4 separate regions of the Homo sapiens genome follow, and regions 2, 3 and 4 are each linked to region 1. Evidence: promoter capture Hi-C in human tissues and cell types (Jung and others, 2019). All regions are on one chromosome and are shown on one strand. Each heading gives the region's core, a stretch centred on a gene start or on the middle of the fragment in contact. The rest is flanking DNA. Distances are from core to core; before and after follow the strand shown.

Evidence for each region. Contacts are between HindIII fragments. The study calls those that stand out against the background at their distance.
Region 2: a contact is called between a fragment that was not itself captured here and the fragment with the promoter of JAM2 in region 1, in 3 of the 25 tissues and cell types used here (dorsolateral prefrontal cortex, lymphoblastoid cells and mesendoderm cells).
Region 3: a fragment that was not itself captured here is called in contact with the fragment with the promoter of JAM2 in region 1 in 2 of the 25 tissues and cell types used here (lymphoblastoid cells and mesendoderm cells).
Region 4: a contact is called between a fragment that was not itself captured here and the fragment with the promoter of JAM2 in region 1, in 3 of the 25 tissues and cell types used here (dorsolateral prefrontal cortex, heart left ventricle and hippocampus).

Annotation. Positions count from the first base shown.
Region 1 is chr21:25,637,412-25,640,889 of GRCh38, reverse strand. JAM2 (junctional adhesion molecule 2) reads right to left here and starts at 1,632. Exons shown (of 10, transcript NM_021219.4): 1 at 1,002-1,632. The coding sequence starts at 1,068. RefSeq lists enhancers at 650-719, 622-1,122, 1,860-1,999 and a silencer at 1,450-1,639. The HindIII fragment of the contact is 5,846 bases long and covers 631-3,478 here.
Region 2 is chr21:25,743,918-25,747,395 of GRCh38, reverse strand. It overlaps GABPA (GA binding protein transcription factor subunit alpha), which reads right to left. Exons shown (of 10, transcript NM_002040.4): 3 at 2,042-2,186. Among named protein-coding and RNA genes, the nearest start is that of GABPA, 11 kb to the right of the region's middle. The HindIII fragment of the contact is 6,409 bases long and covers 1-3,478 here.
Region 3 is chr21:25,539,726-25,543,203 of GRCh38, reverse strand. No RefSeq gene overlaps it. Among named protein-coding and RNA genes, the nearest start is that of MIR155HG, 21 kb to the left of the region's middle. The HindIII fragment of the contact is 7,043 bases long and covers 1-3,478 here.
Region 4 is chr21:25,724,339-25,727,816 of GRCh38, reverse strand. It overlaps ATP5PF (ATP synthase peripheral stalk subunit F6), which reads left to right. Exons shown (of 4, transcript NM_001003703.2): 3 at 2,467-2,591; 4 at 3,140-3,317. The coding sequence ends at 3,177. Among named protein-coding and RNA genes, the nearest start is that of ATP5PF, 8.8 kb to the left of the region's middle. The HindIII fragment of the contact is 7,027 bases long and covers 1-3,478 here.

The DNA of each region.
Region 1 (3,478 bases), core at 383-2,882:
TACCAGAACGTGAATAGCAACAATAACTCATTTTACAAAAGAAAGAAAGAGAGACAGAAAGAAAGAGAGAGAGAAAGAAAGAAGAAAGAGAAAGGAAGGGAGGAAGGAAGGAAGGGAAAAAAGCAAAACAAAAAAGGTGAGAGAAAAAAGAAAAAGCAAAAGTAGAACTGCATTGCTTAGTCTATTGTAATTTCCTCCATTTTCCTAAAAAGTTAACGCGAAGAAAACAAAATAACGGCAACGTTCCCAGGATTTCAAATCTCATGAGTCCAGAATCCGTGAAAATCCTGTTTAAAATCATCCGGTGAAATTGGCTTTGGGACGTCTCCCCAGCTACTGGATCATGTGGCTTCTGAATCTTTCTAACAATCGTCCCGTTGGATGTCCCCTGAGGACAGAGCAGCTGGCTAGAGTCCCCAGACCAGACTTCTCTAAGTGAATGTAGATGTGCAGGTGGAGAGGATAAAAGTAATTCTGGCTCAGCAGCCACGAATTCCCTCCACCTCCGCCCCACAAGTGCGCTGCATATCGCCGGCTCAGCTGGGACGCTACAGAGCCCAGACCACGCGGACGCTGCCCCCTCCCCGGGGACTCAAAGTGTGGCCGGCGCCCGCCTCCCAGTGATGCCATCTTTCTTGGGGTCTTAGCATCTTACCAGTGGGTAGTGAGTTTTGCATTCGAATCACGTCCCTCTGTCTGAAAACTTACCCCAACTTTGCAAACAGATGAGAACCTGCTAGTGGGAACCCTTAATTTTCTGTATCTAGAACTGACAAAATCAGACGCAATTCACAAGAAACCCACGACCTCGCGCTCCCTTGCTCCCAGCGTCCGCTCGCGGGCACCCTGGGTTTCCCGCTCGCCTGGGCGCAAGGTCAGACGCCCCGCGGCGACCTCGGCCCAGAGCCGCCCAGACACTGTCAGCCAGCGCCCCGTGGGGGGCTGGAGGGTGGGGGCAGGCTGGTCCAGGCAGGAAGGGTAGAGGAACCCGAGCAACTTACAGCCCAGGGCGACCACCAGGTAGCGCAGCAGCAGCAGGAGGAGGCGGTGGCGGCTCCTCCTCGCCATCTTCCCGGGGCGGCAGCCGGCTGCTCTGAGGAGGTCGAGGGTCCCGGCGGCAGGAGCGCAGGAGGCCGGGGGCCCTTGAACTTCTGGGGCGGGAAAGGAGCAGAGAGTCGGGAGGGGAGGAAGAGGAGGGACGGCTCTAGATGGGATGTCAGTTTCCCCCTCCCCGGGGCGCCTTCTCAGCTGGCTGCCAAGAGGCGGGTCCTCCAGCCCAGGGATGGGGGTCTGTTCTGTTTTGGGGGTGTGGGGGTAGGGGCTAGAGGGCGTGAAAACCAGACGAGGCGTCCGCCGGGTCCTAGCGAGGGGGCAGCAGGAGGAGAGCAGCGCCCGGGAAAGCCCCGGCGGGTCGTCCCTCCGCCCCCACGCCTCCGGGATTGATCGGCTTTGTGTCTGGTCCGCGCGGGGCTGCCAGCTGTCCCCAGGGCGAGGAGCTGGGGGCGGGAGGCGCGGGCAGGCTGGGGGTGGGGGGATTGGGTGTCTCGGGGACGGGGATGTATGCGGGTAGGGAAACGCCTCCTGTTTTGCCCCAACTCCTTTCTTCCCCTCGTTGGCTCAAAACTTCTTTCTGGCTTTTCAGCCTAGGGGTGGAGATATTTGGAAAATTCTGCCCAACGGGCGAAGCTGAGGGGGTGGCGCTCTGAGGAGATGGGGTTCGCGGGCTCCGCCTCGAACTCGAGAAAAAAAAAAGCAATCAAGACTCGTGCTGGAAGTCAGGTCTCAGATTTTAGTACAGCCTTGGTCCCTTCTCAGTTTAAGCTTTTTGCTCCTTGGAGATTTGAGGTGCATTTGTCTCGCGTTCTTGTTCTTTGCTTTTTTTTCAGTGTCAGAGTTGGAAGTTCATCTAATGGTGTGAAATATTTATCATGTTTCTTTCAAGTTACATAACTGCTGCTTGTGGAGTTTTCCACGTGTTAAAACTCTACAGCTGCCCTTTGTCAGGTTTATTTTTGGTCTACTGTGCTTTTAAAAGGGAAACCCATTATGAATGCTCTGTTGCGTGCTTTAAAATTGCACCACACTTACATTGGACGCACGTACACTGGCAATTTTTATATTTGTTCCTAGGGACCAAAAATGTATGGTGTATTCAAGAGTATTGGCAGGTCTGGAAAAAGGCCATTCCCAGGAGAAGAAATTAGTATACATCAGTTTTTTTCTTTTGTTTTTTTGTTTGTTTTTGTTTTTGTTTTTTTTTAAAGGTTGAATAATGGATGAAGTTCTGTACAGCAGATAGTTGATTTAGTGGTGTATTTAAAAAGAATTCAGCTAGCTCAGTGGACAAAGGCGACCAGAGTTTAGCTGTGCAGAACTGTGAGGAATGAGGCATCCTTGCTGTTGCCGTGGTGACAGTGATGAAAACTTAGTACCCAGGGAGGGGGTGGGAGGAGAGGACCCAGGGGACCCAGAAAGGAAAGTCAAAATGGCAAAATGTTAAAACTCGTACTCCAGTCAACCGAGGAGAAGGGGCACAGATTTAACAACAGCTTATGCCAGTTTTTCTGGGCAGTAATGAGAAGGATTTGATGCTTAAAAAGAAAAGTTGTTGGCATCTTCTTTTTTCTAATTCTTGCTACAGCTATATGTCTTTTACTCCTCCCTAAAAATATACACAAAAATGTCATACTTAAAAAAATTCTATGCAATCCTATGTGAGTAACTGACTAAGTTATTTATTTGCCACCCAGCCAAGGCATTTGACAAATGGCAACAATGTGCTGGATGCTGAAGGACAACCATGAACAAGATAGAGGCTTTCTTGCTAACAAGCTCACAGTCTTGAGGGGAGACAGAGTCTTATCAGGAAAGATGCCTGATACCACATGGTAAATGTTACAGGAGGACAGAAAATAATAACAGCTATTTTTATTGCATGCTTTCTCAGTGATGGAGTCTGAATAACGCAATATCTAATCCCCCAACAACTCCATAAAAGAGGAAATGTTATCATTCCCACTTTGCAGATGAGAAAACTGGGCGGAGAGACACTAAATGGCTTGTCCAAGGTCCATGATAAGGGGCTGTTCCTTTTGTTGGGAGTGGGGCCAGGGCTTTCTTTATTAAACCTTGAAAAATGGGTCAAATTCTGAAGGGAAGGACATAAAGGAGAGGCATTCTACATAGAGGAAACAGCAGGATCCAGAGCTAGGAGATTGAAAAATTATGGTTTATTTAGAAAAAGCAAGGTTCTACAGTACTAAAGTGTATGTGGGATCGGGATAGTGAGGTAGGTGGTGGTGGTGGTAGAAACTGAAGGGGAGGTTAGAGTACGAAGAGCATTCACGCTACTGTCTAGACCTCATCCTACAGCTAATGAGCTTTTTGAAAGCAATGAGATAAGAAAAGACTCATATTTTAGAACTGTGGTGTCCAATATGGTAGCCTATAGATCTAAGTGGCTATATACATTTTTTTT
Region 2 (3,478 bases), core at 396-2,895, 110 kb before region 1:
TGGAAGAGCCTGGGTAATCTGCAGGCCATACTTTCATTTTGGATAGGTCAAGTGTTATAAAGAAAGCAATAAATGTTACAGCTGAAAGACAACTAAGAGATCAAGTCCAGATTCTCCTTTATTTTACATATGAGCAAAACCAGGCAAAGTCCAGTGACACTGAGTTATATTCACTATAAACCTTTAAAAAAGTTTTTTGTTTTTTCGTCTCAAACAAGTGAAGAGAGTTCTGGAGCCACAGAGGTCTGGGTTCAAATTCCAGTATACCCTTTTGTAGCCACACATTGGGCAAATTATTTAACCTCTTTAAATCTGTTTCTACATCTGCAGAATGTGACTAAAAATATGCTGATTTCAAAGACTGATGTGAAGATTACGTGAGAGAATTAGAGTGTTTTGTAAGTATTTTTTTCACTCAACGTACCTTGCCCATATAGCTCAAGTTCACCAGTTTTTAATGGCTACCTCGAATTCTATTCTATCAAATCTCATTTTTGGAACATTTGAGGTGTTTTCAGTTTTTGCAAAGCCATGAACATCTTCATGCATATATCTTTACCTACCCAAGTGAGCATTTCTGTAGGAATAATTTGCTGAAGTGGAACTGTTAGGAATTTCACATTTAACATTAACAGATATTAAATGGGAGGTGGTCTTCCAAAAAGACTAAGCTAACTCATCCTCTCATTGTTAAGAGAAAAAAACTTTAAATCCTAAAATTTGTAACACTACTAGACTTTCCCACATGCCCTAGTTTTAGAGGCACTCTATCTTCCCTACCCACCACCAATTACTAGATTTATATTGAAATGAAAAGATTAAAGTATGGTTAAAAGGCAAATAAAATGCACAAATTTTGTTAAAACACTTCAACTTATTGTACAACAATATCTTATTAAAAATAGTAGCAGCATATGATGATTTGAATTTTTAAAAAACTAATAAAAAAGTTCTGTAATATACAGAATACCCATATCACAAGGCAGGCAGGGGAAGGAGTAAAGAATAAAATAAATCAAACGATCCAGAAGATGAAACAATATACATTAATCTAAGTTAATATAAAAATAGTATAAAACTCAGCCAGGCACGCTGGCTCACACCTGTAATCCTAGCACTTTGGGAGGCCAAGGCAGGCGGATCACTTGAGATCAGGAGTTCAAGAGCAGCCTGGCCAACACAGCAAAACCCCGTGTCTACTAAAAATACGAAAATTAGCCAGGTGTGGAAGCATCGGCCTGTAGTAGTCCCAGCTACTCAGGAGGCTGAGGCAGGAGGATCGTTTGAACCTGGGAGGTGGAGGTTGCAGTGACCCGAAACTACACGACTGCACTAAAGCCTGGGTGACAGAACGAGACTCCATTTCAAAAAAAAGAAAAAAAAAAAGTATAAAACTCTAGTATTTAATCATATGTTTAAGGAAGGTCATGGAAAACTGTATGGGCAATCCTATTTAGGCTGCTACCTTTCATACATAAAAGTACTACCTATCTTTAAAACATACTGTAAAATATGACTCGGGATATGTTTCAGACATAACATATTATACTACTACCATGGGTAAAATCCTTTTACAATAAATTCCAGGACCTATCAGTTGATATTTAAATTCTTATCCAAAACTTACTGTTAGAGAAAATAAAGGTAAAACAGAAATGTAGAAATCATTTAGTTAAATGATACGTTTGAGAAGTTAAAAGCTGGCTAGAAATACACTTCAGCTTCAAAAGTCAATGGGCTTCCTACTGTTACTACTTATATTTAAGCTTTGATTCTAATTTATTTAAACTTCTCGTTTTATATTTGTGAAAGTAAAAAACAAATGTTTCATTTGTTTTAGTACTAAATATTTAAAATATAACTTTAAATGGAGAAAACTTTGCTTAAAAACCTTTTTATTTCTAAACACTTAAATTTTACAGTAATACAGGTCAAATCTTCTTACAGAGATAAAGTCTATAGCTATAAAGAAAAGGCTAACAAAAAATATTCCTATGCAGACTAAAATGTTGCAATAGAAATTTACAAAAATAAAAATTACCTGGATATCTTGCAGACAAATTTCATGAGCATCCAAAGAACACTGTAGTCTTGGTTCTAGCAGTTTCTTTAAATTGCCTATTGGTTCATTGATGTCTATGGCCTGGCTTACACATTCAGCTGGCGCGTAGGTTTGTTCTACAATGCTAAATGTTAAAGATGTAAGTGCTAACAGTTACATTTTTTACCCTGGATTTCAAAGCAACAATATGCTAAAAACACAATCCCAAACCAAAACACATTTCTGGTCTTTGAAAAGTCATTTCTACATAGATACTGTGGCAGGCTCATCACCAACTAGTGTTGCCAAAATGAACACTGAATTTCATAGAGAAATGCTAAGCTTGAAATTTAAAGCATCCTTGTAAATATGCCTCATTATGTATGTACATACATATGTGTGTATGTGTACACATATAAACATTGCACATACATTATGTTTGCATTTGCATTACATTTTCAAGTTATTTTGAAGAATTTTAGACCCAGAAAGGAAGACACATTGTCTCCTCAAAATCTGTATGCCATCTCTACTAGTCAATTTCCCTTCCCCACATAAAAAAAAAGAAAGATATAAAAATAGAATAAGTTAAATAAAAGACTTTCCCTTTAATTTAATATGAACACAACTGGTTATAATCAGGACAGCTCAACGTTTAAAAAAAAAATGTATATTCTTCCTAAAAACTGTCTTAGTGCTCTTTCATATTATTTCACACTTTGAATTCAAAAGGGTTAAAATCTTTGGTAAGTAATCCTACATAACTCTTACAAATCCTTATATAGGGCCAAATAGACAAATACTAAGTAATATTTGCTGAATTGGTGAATGTGGAATTCAATTAAGTATTCCAACATGTTTAATTTAAATATGATTTAAATCTTATTTGTGATTGTCAAAAACAGTATGCATTAAAAATCTGTCAAGTTTTCACATAAATTACAAGTAAAATGAGATACATACATGATATTCAATGAATGTATATAGCTTAAACTTTTTTCTAAAATATTTATTTATATTTTAATTTTAGAGAGAGTCTCCCTATGTTCACACCAGGCCGGCCTCAAACTCCTGAGCTCAACTGATCTTCCCACCTCAGCCTCCCAAGTAGCTGGGACTACAGGTGTGTGCCATTGCACTTGACTTAAAACATTTAAAATTTATAAAATAGAACCCTCATGATTAAAAACAAGCTTATTTAAAAATACTAGTCTACTATTGTTATTTGTTAAGGTAAAAAAAAACTTTAAGTAAGCCTTTTTACCAAACTCTTCAGCTATAGCCTGGTAGGTTTTTTTTTTTTTTTTTTTTTGAGACAGAGTCTCGCTCTGTTCCTAGGCTGGGGTGCAGTGGCGCGATCTTGGCTCACTACAACCTCCGCCTCCCGAGTTCAAGCGATTCTCCTGCCTCAGCCTCCCGAGTATCTGGGACTACAGG
Region 3 (3,478 bases), core at 577-3,076, 98 kb after region 1:
CCACCCATGCTGTACATTAGATCCCCAGAACTTGTTTATTTTATAACTGAATATTTGCACCCTTTGAACAACATCTCCTCATTTTCCCTACCGCCACCAGACGCTGGCAACTATTATTCTGCTCTCCATTTCTATGAGTTTAACTTTTTTAGATTCCACCTACAAATGAGATCATATAGTATTTGATACTAAACCAGCAGGTCTCCTCTCTGATGCCAAATATCCTGGCCCTCAACAGCATCAATATAACTGTTTGCTTCATTCAAACCACACACACATGCACACACACACCAGAATGTATAGCACCAATGTTATTGCTGTACTATTATTACTGAAAACAGCTTAATACTTTATAATTGTTTTTAGTTCTCTTTGTCCTTAGAGTATAGTTCACAGGGATGTGCAGTCCAATTACTTTGTCTTAAAGTTACTTGAAATTATTTCTTCCTGTTTGCTGCTACTTTGATGCAAAATTAAGTTTACTTGTTTAATTTACTTTTGATTTTTAGGTATTGAGTTATTTCTGTTTTATATTTTTGTAATTCATTTGTCTGGTTTCAAAGTCAAATTTATTAAATAAGGTATTTTTACCTTCTTTTCCTGTCTTCTCCTTTTTCTTCTTTGTTTTCCTTAAAATATTTTTATACTATATCCCTCAATTAAAAAATATGTGCATATATGTGTGTATGTGTGCATATAAATATGTATATATCTATGTCTCTATATATCTGCTTCTTTCTCTTAGATAAATGGCAGTGTGCTGTCCACACTTTTCTCCATCTTTGTTTCTTACTTTACAGTATATCTTGGATATCATCCCCTAGCAGAAGATAGAGATAGTCATAATTTCTCAATAAAGTTGCATACTCTTCCATCATAGACCCCAAATTGATGGACATTTGTGTGGTTTTAAAATTTTTTATAATTACAAGTAGTGCTATAATGACTACTTTTGTTTATTAGGTTGGCACAAAAGTAACTGTGGTTTTTCCCATTACTTTCAATGTGCCAACTTTTTGTGCCAACCTAATACGTCTTTTGTATTTTTACCAATTGTATCAGTCAGGGTTCCTCCCAAGAAGGAGAAGCAGCAGGCTATTTATTGTAAGGAATGGGTTTGTGTGATTGTTAGGGATGGCTAGACAGGTCTGAAACATGTAGGGCTGGCCGTGGGAAAGGGTAGGCTAGAACTCCCAGGCACAAGCTGAAGCTGTAGTCTACAGGTAGAATTTCTTCTTCTTCAGAGAAACTTCAGTTCTGCTTTTAGGGCCTTTGAACTGAATAAATCAGACCCACCCAGATTATCTAGGATTATCTTTATTACTAAAAGTAAGCTGATGATAGACTTATCACACTACAAAGTACATTCACAGCAACACCAAGATTAGCATTTGATTGAATAACTGGGAACTATAGCCTAGCCAAGTTGATACATAAAACTGACTATCACACTGATATATTTTTTGGATAGATATTTAGATGTGGAATTGCTGTGTCAAAGGATAAATGCACATATAACTTTTCATGGGATTACCAAATTCCTTTCCAGAAGGATTGTATCAGTTTGCATTCCAACTATCAATGTATGAGAATGGCTGTTTCCCCACAACCTCAAAAACAAAATATATTTAGAATTTTTTTCAACTGGATGAGTAAGATGTTACCTCAATGTGGTCTTATTTTGCATATCTTTAATTATGTGTAAAGCTGGATTTTGTTGCTGGTTGGATTATTTTCAATCTAACACTACTTCTTTCTGCCATGACTGTGCAGTGCCCTAGAGTGGGTATAGCCTATTTTCCTGTCCCAGTGTCTTCCTTTGCACAATGGAATGTTAATGGATGAAGGCATTTAAAGTACAAGTCATGTGCTTGCATGATTTGACTTGGCCTCTTTTGCTTCTGTGGTCGGCCATGAGAAGAGCATGCAATGAGTAGTCTCTGATCCAAAGTGAACATGGAGCTACATGAATTAGAGCTGAACCTAACCTTTAGCGTGTAGCCTGGGGCTTAGAGCCCAAAACCCAGAGTCAGGGAACTCTGAGGTGTTGAACTTAATTTGGTCATGGGGTGGCCAAACATATTACAGTTTATTTGTAGCCAACCTGCAGACCTACAAGTATGAAACATATGGTTATTATTTTAAAGAACTGGGGTTATTTGTTACACAGAACTATTGCAGCCATGACTGATTAGTATGCTTTTATTTGTTTAAGTCTGCTTTTGAGTCTCTGAGGAGTGTATTTATAAGATTTATAGTATCATATACAATATTTAAAGAATTCTCTTACATATTTGTTTTCATAGCCTTAAACTTTTTAAAAATGTTTGTTCATTCATTCTTTCATTTAACAAATATTTATAGAGTACTCATATGTGCTAGACAATTTTCTTGGTGCTAGGAATACATTGGCAAACAAAGCAAAATATCTGCACTTATAGAGCTTAAATTCTAGTGATATTTTCATTCATTGGACTTGCTTGAAGTTTGTGTGTTTCACTGGTCTTTTCTAAATAAATAGTTCTTGGATTTATTTACTAAGATTCATTCTCTCTTCCATATTTCATTACTTCCCTTTTTTAGCTTTATGCTTTGCTTCCTTCTATTTTATTTTAGTTTATTTTATTGTCTTTTTTCTAATTTCTTGAGTTTCTAATTTCTTTCTCTATTTCTTATAAATAAACTTAAAGCTAAAATACTTCTTTGAGTACTATTTTGTCTCAATTTCATTAGTTTTTATGTGTGTTGTCCTGGTTTTATTAATTTCTAATTAGCTCATAATTAAAGCTTACATTTCTTCTTATTCAAGCACTTAAAAATAACTTCTAATACTTCTAAGTGGCTTTTTGTGCATGGTTTGTTTTGTAACAGTCTGTTCTTGCGTTTTTAGGTATAATTTTTTTCTCAAATCTCTCTGGGATAAAGAACTTCCAGTTATGGAGCTGTGAAGAGTTTGGGCACTGGAAATCAACTAAAGGCAAACAACAAATTGAGAAACACTTATTCTTAAAAAAACTGCTAGAACTTCAAAGAGAACAGTAGGAGTGTTTTTTTTTTAAATTTTATTATTATTATTATTATTTTTTTGAGTGGTACCGTGCCTACTCCCTCTTCCCCAAGTTAGTTGGCAAGAATAAGAGTTTTACCAGCATTAGAATGATGTTGAAAACAAACAGCTTGCTGCCAGAGGGAGTGAATTTAATTTGGTTATAAGGTGAAAGTGATACAGGATTTTCTGGCTGGTGACACCTCTGCCCAGGCCTTTCCTGGGCCTGGGCTTGCCTCAGGAGACACCCCGTCTACTCAGACCACTGGACCACACCTGGCTTGCACTCTGGCGCAGATCCCATGGCTGCCGTGACTGTACCCTCAGCCCCTGGTGGGAGGGTGTGTGTGAGTGAGTCAGTGTGGGATCCAGCTGGCCATTCCAAGTACCAGCACAGGAGCAGACTCTGTGTGGGGCTTGTGGCTGGACCAG
Region 4 (3,478 bases), core at 640-3,139, 87 kb before region 1:
AAATCATACTGTTAAGTAACCAGATGTGCAGGACTCGTCAGGGAATTTTGAGTGTCTTCTGTCCAAATGTGGTGTTATATTAGAGTATTGATGCTGTTTGCATCATTTTAACTGTCTTTAAAAGCCTATCTAGTAAGAAGTGAATTCTTAGGTGTACCCTATATCTAAGGAGTCTTGTTTGTGGGTCATTCATTCGTTTGTGCAAACAAACACATGGAGAGTTCTGAGGGTAGACCCTGGGCTGGCATCCAGCACTGCCACTAATTAGCTCTATGACCTTGGGCAGGTTTAACTTCTGTAGGACAGTTTTCTCATATGTAAAAGGAGGATGATGGTAGTACTTACCCATTTCATAGGATATTATAAAAATTAAATTATTCAATACATTAGCATGCCTAGTATTTGCTAGTGAAATGAACAAGTATCTTCTGAGTGACTGCTTTGTCCTAGGCATCATGTGAGAGCCTAGGAATATAGTAATAAGCAAGATAAGCAGCAAGACTTACATTCAGTTGAGGAGGTAGATGATTTCTGGCCTCTTTTTATCACAAGAGTGCATATTAAAGTTAAAATAGCCATCATCCATCTGTAACCAGTATTAGAGTATCTAGTTGAAGGATCTATTTAGAACCGCAGTGTCCATTTTGGTTGCCGTTATCCATGAGACTATTCAAATTCTAATTACAATTAAGTGTATTTATAAATTCAGTTTCTCATTTTCTCATTCATGTTAGCTATATTTCTAGTGCTCAATAGCCAGATATGGCTAGTGGCTGCCACACTGGACAGCACAGACAGAGAGCGTTTCTAACATCACAAAAAGGTCTATTGGACAGTGCTAATCTAAAAGAAAATTGGGTCTCTAACAAGAAATATTGATAACAAGTTCTTAAATTGGAGCCACCTATGTATTTTTTGTGCATGTTCTTTAACTTAAATAAGACTGTATACTTTGATCATAGGCATGTGTAAAAATGTTATTACCCTTGAAGGAATTTTCATGTGTACATTTTTTTACATTTAGAATATTGTTCATTGCTAGGTAGGCAGTAGTATTTATGACAAAAACAGAAGAATTTCTTCAAAGAATTAATGAGACCCAGTTGGCCCTGCTGCTGGTCCATAATGCTATATTTATTTTCCCAAAATGCACAAGTCTAATTTTGTCATTTTATTGCTTGGCAAATAAAATACAAACTCCCAGGCTTAACATTCCGGGCCTCCCATGATCTGGGGTCTGCTGGTTTTTCCATCTAGACTCCTTAGCATTCCCCACATACAGCCAATCCCTTACCACCTCTATGTCTTTGCTTTTTCCATCTTAGAAGGTCTCAAAATAAACCCTGGCCCCAGATGCCTGATGTTTCTCAAATGCCACCTTTTTAAAATGAAATTTTCCCTGATTAGCTTAGCAAAAGTAATCTCTTCCTCAACTTGAATAGCTTTTTGTTAAATCATGTCTTTGAAGCTCATCACATCACTCCTTTACAGCATAAATGTTTGTAAACATGTAATTTTTTTCTTCGAAATTGCAAAATCTCTGAGGGTAGGAAATAATTTGCTTCTTTAATAGGACCCCTATGGTAGAAACTTAAAAGTCTAAGGTCTTTAAAAGCCATTTAGTGATGGCTGACTTAAAGCAGATGATATTAGTAGATAATAATTGAGTACTCACTGTGTGCCAGGCACTGTGCTTAGAGGTACGTGTGCATTTACACCCTCGTTTGGTAGAACCTTCATATTTAGTTGTGGAAACTAAAATTTAGAGTGCTCTGTGCCTTACTCAGGTTTACGCAGTTGCTGAATAGTTGAACTTACACTCAAACAGGACCAGTCTTTGACTCCAGAGCCTGTAGACTTAACGATACACCTTTTGCAACTTAGACCCTGAGAAATTCTGACTTAGTGAGTGTCCGTGATTCTGAGAAACCTTGAATGTTAGAGATTGGTTTGAGGATACCTCATTTATGTGAAACCTCATCGTAATAAAATAGTTTGAATTGAAATTGAAGTAGAAATACTTATTTTCTTTCTGAAGTCTTTTCTTTGACTACATGAATGCTTTAAAAAGGTCTATTGGCCGGGTGTGGTGGCTCACGCCTGTAATCCGAGCACTTATGGGAGGCCGAGGCGGGCGGATCATGAGGTCAGGAGATCGAGACCATCCTGGTTAACATGGTGAAACCCCCTCTCTACTAAAAATACAAAAATTAGCTGGGCATGGTGGCGTGTGCCTGTAATCCCAGTTACTTGGGAGGCTGAGACAGGAGAATCGCTTGAACCAGGGAGTCGGAGGTTGCAGAGAGCCAAGATCATGCTACCGCACTCCAGCCTGGCGACCAAGCAAGACTCCGTCTCAAAAAAGAAAAAAAAAAAAAGATCTGTTGGAATGTGGTGGTGAAAAGTAATTTTGTTTTTGTAAGCTAGTACACAAAATTAATTTTTGTTTGCTCATTTACTTAACAGGACATCTGGAGGACCTGTTGATGCTAGTTCAGAGTATCAGCAAGAGCTGGAGAGGGAGCTTTTTAAGCTCAAGCAAATGTTTGGTAATGCAGACATGAATACATTTCCCACCTTCAAATTTGAAGGTACGTCTTATAAATCACAGATTCATTCTTGTGGGGGATAAGTGAAGAATATTTACACTTACCTGGATTTTTAGAGAACTGAATGACAGTGTTGACATGTGAATTTATTAGGACCATGACGTGTGCCTGAGAAGCTGCCGGCTAAATGTTTGCTGTTAGAATAAGAGCAGTATAGGAGATCACATAACATAGTGATTAAATGGTGGGGATCTGAAATCGAACTGCCCAATCTTGAATCCTTATAATCACTTTCAGCTGTGTAATCTTGAGTAATTAACTGGTGCATGTCTCCTCATCTGACATTTGGGGAGAATTATAGTATCTTCTGCATATGTAGTTAAATGACATAATATATGCAAAGTCAATTAATGGAATGCATGGCTCATAGAAAGTGTTGCATAAATGTTTAGCTATATTTCTATGTAAATGTTTACAAACAGTGTTTACTAAAAAAATCAGAAAATTGATGAGTTAAATCTTGAGCATTCTACATAATCCATTTTATTGCAATTTGGCTAAGCTTGACCCTTTTTTCCCCCTCTTCTTAGATCCCAAATTTGAAGTCATCGAAAAACCCCAGGCCTGAAGAAATAAAGTAAAATTAATCTGGTAATTTGTCACGGATTAGTTGTACAACTAGTTAGAAGTTTCAGAATAAACATGCATTTCATAACTGTCAAATGTTCTTTTAATTCTGAGTCCAAATAAATTATTTGGTGATGTTGAGTGTGTTCTTGATGAATTGAGTTCTGTGTGTTAGAGTTGTTTTTAGATCCTTTCATTTGGTTATAATAAAGCAGATGGAGACCTTGGATGAACTGGACACAACTTGCACATAACCCTGCTTGTTGTGGAGGGATGTTACCCTTCCTTTAGAACATGAAGAA